Linked DNA regions of Homo sapiens: region 1 is linked to region 2. Evidence: promoter capture Hi-C in human tissues and cell types (Jung and others, 2019). All regions are on one chromosome and are shown on one strand. The core of a region is centred on a gene start or on the middle of the fragment in contact, and the rest is flanking DNA. Distances in the headings are between cores, read along the strand shown. Region 1 has its middle 130 kb from the start of LINC00621. Region 2 holds the start of SGCG (sarcoglycan gamma).

Evidence for each region. Contacts are between HindIII fragments. The study calls those that stand out against the background at their distance.
Region 1: a fragment that was not itself captured here is called in contact with the fragment with the promoter of SGCG in region 2 in 1 of the 25 tissues and cell types used here (mesendoderm cells).

Annotation. Positions count from the first base shown.
Region 1 is chr13:22,780,941-22,784,198 of GRCh38, reverse strand. No RefSeq gene overlaps it. Among named protein-coding and RNA genes, the nearest start is that of LINC00621, 130 kb to the left of the region's middle. The HindIII fragment of the contact is 5,837 bases long and covers 1-3,258 here.
Region 2 is chr13:23,179,064-23,182,228 of GRCh38, reverse strand. It overlaps SGCG (sarcoglycan gamma), which reads right to left and starts at 1,250. Exons shown (of 8, transcript NM_000231.3): 1 at 1,154-1,250. The HindIII fragment of the contact is 3,028 bases long and covers 692-3,165 here.

The DNA.
Region 1 (3,258 bases), core at 442-2,941, 400 kb after region 2:
TTTCATATGCCTGTTGGCCATTTGTATGTCTTCTTTTATGAAATGTCTGTTTAGGTCCTTTGCCCATATTTTTGCTTTTATTTTTCATTGGCATCTACTAATTGTACTTTGCCTGTTTTTTAATCAGGTCATTTGTCTTCTTACTGTTGAGTTGATTGAGTTCCTTATATATTTTGCATATCAACCACTTATTAGATACACAGTTTGCAAATATTTTCTCCCACTCTCTACATTTTCTCTTCACTCTCTTGGTTTTCTTTTTTTTTTTTTGCTGTGCAGTTCTTCATTTTGATGTAATGCTATTTGTTTATTTTTGCTTTTGCTGCCTGCACTTTTGGGGTCATATCCATAAGTTATTGCCCAGAGCAACTCCATGGAGCTTTTCCCCTATTTTTTTCTAGTAGCATCATAGTTTGGGGCCTTACATTTCAGTATTTAAGCCATTTTGAGTTGATACTTGTATATGGTATGGAATAAGGATTTAATTTCATTCTTCTGCATATGGACATCCAGTTTTTCCAACACCATTTATCAAAGAGACTGTTTTTTCTGCATTGTGTGTCCTAGGTGTTTTTGTTAAAAGGTAAAATTTTTATCATCCCATTTTTGTTGTAAGAAAATTGTAGGGCCGGGCTCGGTGGCTCACACTTGTAATCCCAGCACTTTGGGAGGCTGAGGCAGGCGGATGACAAGGTCAGGAGATCAGGAGATGGAGATAATCCCGGCTAACATGGTGAAACCCTGTCTCTACTGAAAATACAAAAGATTAGCCAGGCTTGGTGGTGGGCATCTGTAGTCCCAGCTACTCAGGAGGCTGAGGCAGGAGAATGACGTGAACCTGGGAGGCGGAGCTTGCAGTGAGCGGAGATCACACCACTGCACTCTAGCCTGGGTGACAGAGTAAGACTCTGTCTCAAAAAAAAAAAAAAAAAAAAAAAGAACATTGTACTTTAGAAGCTTTAATTCATATGTAAGATTGCCAAGCTATTAATGACTTATCATTCTGACCTCGATCTCCCTGGCTCCTGAGTCTATACACTTTGTCAAGACTAAAAGTGAAAATTAAAATGATGGCTCAGAAAGGGCAACATTTTGTAATAATCTCAGGATATGCCTCTGTGGTTCCCCAGGGTTTCTTGAAGTATTGAGATCACTGACCTACATGAATACCTTCCTAAGTCCTTGCAAATAAGAGCAAAGTGGGTTATCAACATGTTCCCTCCAAATCCAATAAGCATCATACTGTGTCAAAACTTATTGCAACATGATTGAACCATCATATAGTCCATACAACTGTAACTAAAGTATTTGGACAAATTGAACAGAATCTCTAAGAATCCCCATGCCACAGTCTGTTTCTGTACTGTGCAGGGACCCCAAGGGGAGAACATGAGAACTCAGAGTAGGGGAAAAGGTTCATATATTTGCACTCTAGCTTGGCCGCCAATTGGAGCCAACGGTTAGGACAAGAATAAGCCACGTGTAGGCCGGGCGCTGTGGCTCACGCTTGTAATCCCAGCACTTTGGGAGGCCGAGGCGGGCAGATCACAAGGTCAAGAGATCGAGACCATCCTGGCTAACACGGTGAAACCCGATCTCTACTAAAAAAAAATTAGCGGGCGTGGTGGTGGGCACCTGTAGTCCCAGCTACTCAGGAGGCTGAGGCAGGAGAATGGCATGAACCCTGGAGGTGGAGCTTGCATTGAGCGGAGATGGTGTTACTGCACCCCAGCCTGGGCGACAGAGGGAGACTCCGTCTCAAAAAAAAAAAAAAAATTAATATCAAATTTTATTGAGAGGCTCAAATGGAAAAACATAAATAAGAGTGCAAAATCTAATATGTAATGCACTAAATAAATGCAAACGACTTTTTAAAGTTTTAATTCAGTGTATAATTCAGTGGGTTTTAGTATATTCAGAGTTGTACATCTATCTCTATAGCGTAATTTTAGAATATTTCATGACCCCTCAAAAAGCAACCCTGTGTCTATGTACTCATTAGCAATTACTCCACACCTTATCTCTCAGTCCAGCCCTAGGCAACCACTAATCTACTCTCTATGTCTATGGATCTCCCTATGTTGGACATTTTAAGTAAATGGAATTATATACTCTATGGTCTTTGTGTCTGGCTTTTCTCACCTAGTCTAATAAAGTTTTCAAGGTTCATCCATGTCGTGCCATATGTTAGTACTACTTCATTGCTCATGGCCGAATATATTCCATTGAATGGATCTGCCACATTTGTGTATCCATTCATCAGTTGATGAATAATTGGATTATTTCCACTTTGGGGCCAATATGAATAATGCAGCTGAGTGTGTATACATTTTCTTTTCTTTTCTTTTCTTTTTTTGAGACAGAGTCTCGCTTTGTCGCTCAGGTTGGAGTGCACACTAGAGTGATCTCTGCTCACTGCAAGCTCCGCCTCCCGGATTCACGCCATTCTCCTGCCTCAGCCTCCCGAGTAGCTGGGACTACAGGCGCCCATCACCACATCCGGCTAATTTGTTTGTATTTTTTTAGTAGAGACAGAGTTTCACCATGTTAGCCAGGATGGTCTCGATCTCCTGACCTCGTGATTCACCCGCTTCGGCCTCCCAAAGTGCTGGGATTGCAGGCGTGAGCCACCACGCCCAGCCGAGTGTGTATACATTTTCATGTGGAAATGTTTTCGTTTGTTTTGGGTATGTGCCTAAGAATTGCTGAGTCATATGGTAATTACATATTTCACAGTTTGATAAACTACCAAACTATTTCCAAAATGACTGCATCATCTTATATTCTCACTGGCAACATATGAGGATTTCAGTTATTTCTCCACATCCCATCATTACTTGTCATTGTCTTTTTTATTATAGTCATTTTATTGGGTATGAAAGTCGTATCTCATTTGATTTTGATTTACATTTCCCTAATGTCTAAAGATGTTAGATGTTGAGCTTTTCTTCATATCCATATTGGCTGTTTATCTTTCTTTCAGAAATTCAGAAAGGTCTATTCAAATCATTTATTTGAATTTTTTTAAAATAGAGTTTATTTTTTAAAATCAGTTTTAGGTTTACAGAAAATTAAGTAGAAAGTATAGAGAGTTATTATACACCCCCCTTTCCCCACCTCTTTCTCTTTCTCTCTCTCTCTCACATACACACACACACACACACACACACACACACACAATTTCCTCATTATTATTTTAATTAGTGTGGTCCTTTTGATACAATTGATAAGATAATGTTGATACATTATTTTATAGTC
Region 2 (3,165 bases), core at 1-2,500:
ACAACTATCATTTAATTTTTAATGCAATTTAATAACAACTTAGTTTAATGACTAGCAAGTACATTTTTTAAAGGACAATATGGAACAATTTCATTTTCCGCATTTTAACTGCAAGCTTAGCTGATATCTTTTGGACACCTGAATTTGTTAGTCTTTGGAATGCTATATCTAACTACATTGAAATGCTACTTTTCATTTGTCTTTGAAAGACAATCTGAAATGAATCCTAGAACCTATAAAACGAACCCCAACTTGTAGCATTACTTTTTAAATTCCACAAAGGTGCCTTTTTGTACCTACAAAATGTTTGCAAGAAAATAAGCAAAAAACAAACGGTGTATTCCGTAGTTCGTTTTTGTACTGGTCTGCTGGCAAATCTTTCAGTCAGCTGAGTTATATTTTTCCGTATTATTTTTTTCTAATCCTTCCTTTAAAAAAATTGTGTTTGCTAGTTGTCATGTATTAATTTAGAAAACGCAAAGAAAGAACTCATAACTTCAGTAAGCTGAAGCATTAGCACATGTGTACTTTTACCCCACTTATGTTTATTTTTTCATACATATTTTGAGCAGTATTTTATATTTTCCAGATTTAGGGAAAGAAACATTCTTCCCTTTTCACTCCAAAAATAGTGAAGGAGTCAGGTTGCTATTTTGCTCTTGTTTTGTTTATTTCCAACTTATAAAACCACTGGACTTTTGTTGTCATTCATTTTAGTTTATTTCTTAGTGTCTATAACAAAACTATCAAGAAAATCTAAAGCAAATGTAATTCTACCACTAAAGTTTAAGAGCAGAATTAGAAGTAGGTGATCTTAAAGATAATACTTTGTTTAAATTAACTACAGGATCCAATTCAATGCCCAATAATACAGAAATGCTACCTTTGGCATTCTACAAATTAAAAATGTTAGAAATATAGGATTATGCTAAAAATATGTAGCATATTTGTAGTCAGAATAACTTAGTTGAAATGAGAATTTCATTGATACTTGATATGTCATTATGTTGTGATACACCAATTTATTCAACATTATTTTAAATTTATTATTATGCCACCAAAGAAGAAAGAATATTAAGAAACCTCTTAAGCGTTTGGTTTTTAGGTAGTACTTTGTACTGATATAAAATCTAAGTTAAAACTGAGCACTTACCTTAGATATTAAGAAAAGCACACTGGCGAATGAACTACAGCTGGCCCGAGCTCTACCACAGACAGAATGTTTCAAACTTTTCTATGACTTACAGAATGAGAGCAAAGGATGAAGCTTCAGCAACTGTCCCTGGAGAAAGGGCTCTCACGAGTTTCGCCCTGTCTCATGTTTCATCCCCTCACATTAGCAACAGACGTGTCTAATTTTACTCAGTGACATAAACAGTTCATACCACACTTAAAATTTTTTGGGCACCAATTCCAGGACACAGCTCTTCGCATGCCAAAAACAAACCAAAACAAACAAACAAACAAGAAACCAAACTCTTCTTCTTACAAAACCAACTTTCCAACATTTAAACCCTAAAGCATGATAGTTTAATGTAATTATAACTTTCTTAAAAAAACTTTACCTCAAACAAACAGCAGAAAACTTCTAAGACTGGTTTCCATTAGAAACTAATGTTGATAAAATTTTACGAAAAATCTCTTCAAATTAACATGCAAGTTAGAACTTGTGACTATTACCTATATACTAGTCTCATCCAAATGAACGGCATATTACCATGTAACAGTGACTCTTTAAAAATCACTTTCCCTAAGCCTCTTTAAGTGAAAAACTTTTAACATCTGAGGAGAAAATCTTAAACAAAGATCACCATAATAGAAGGTAAACAAACTCTGCATGTTAAAATTATGACAGTTCTTTTCTAGTAAACTAACATTTCTATTGTGTTTAACAAATTATGTGAATGTAACAAATGTGACCTTAAATTGTCTTTATGTTTATTTAAGAGTAATTAGGTCATTCCATTTTATAAGGTGTAAAGACAACAGAATAAATATCGAACTTCTGAATAATTTTAATATTTTATTTTGCATTATTTTTATGTGACCTGGTTTGCAGCAGGATTAAAACTTACTAAATTATATACTTCATATTTGCATTTTAGTACTAAACCTTGAATATAAGAAGCAGTGCCTTAGTATACATGCACACAGAGATGGGAACAATCAGATACTGGGGCCTGCTTGAGGAAGGAGGGAGGGAGAAAGGTGGGGTTCGGAAAACTGTCTATCGGGTACTGGGCTTACTACCTGGGCGATGAAATTATTTGTACATCAAATCCTGGTGATATGCAATTTATCTGTGTAACAAACCTGCACATGTACCCCTCGAACCTGAAATAAAAAATGAAGAAAAAAAGGAGCAATGCAATAACAATGCATATGCTTCATTCTCATTTTATTTTCTTCTCAGGAGACTTTTCTCTTCATTCTGCTTATTTATACTCTACCATAATTTCTTTTGAAATTTGATACTTCTATCATACCAGCAGCTGCAGGCCTTAAATTACAAGCTGATACAGCTTCAAATAATCTTACATTTGTAAGACATTTTAAAACCTTTCATGAATTCTCTGCACATTAGTACTTCTACTTTGGGAATTCAGCTAGACATAAAATTATAGGACAACTATCAATTTTAAACAAAAATAATATATTAAACAATAATGATATGAAATGTATTTTTGTATGAGTGTATGTCTGAAAAGTCAAAGTCTGAAACTGCTAACTCAATATTCTGATTGAAATGTCATGCATGTAAAGGTTACAATTGAGATACCTCTTCATCAATCGTAAATTGGTTTTGTTGCAATGAACTTTTCAGTGTTTTGGGAACTGCTTTGTAAAAATGTTAGTCAGGTGATGTGTTTGATCCCCACTCATATTTACAGATTCATTTAATACTATCCACACCTATGTTTAGTAGGGCAGAAGAATCACATAAAGAAGCCTTTGATTTTATCAGTTAGTTGAAATTATTAAAGCAAGACCTTCAGTTTGTAATGTAGGCAGCTTAAGTTTGTAACTCACACACACACATTTTGAAATGTTCTCAAAGGAATCATAATACTTTAAAGCTCCAAGAGACCTTAAAGAAATCTAGTCTAACAGTCATTTAGGTGTAAAATAATTTGTTCCAGATTACAAAGCTAGTAAGCCTATGGG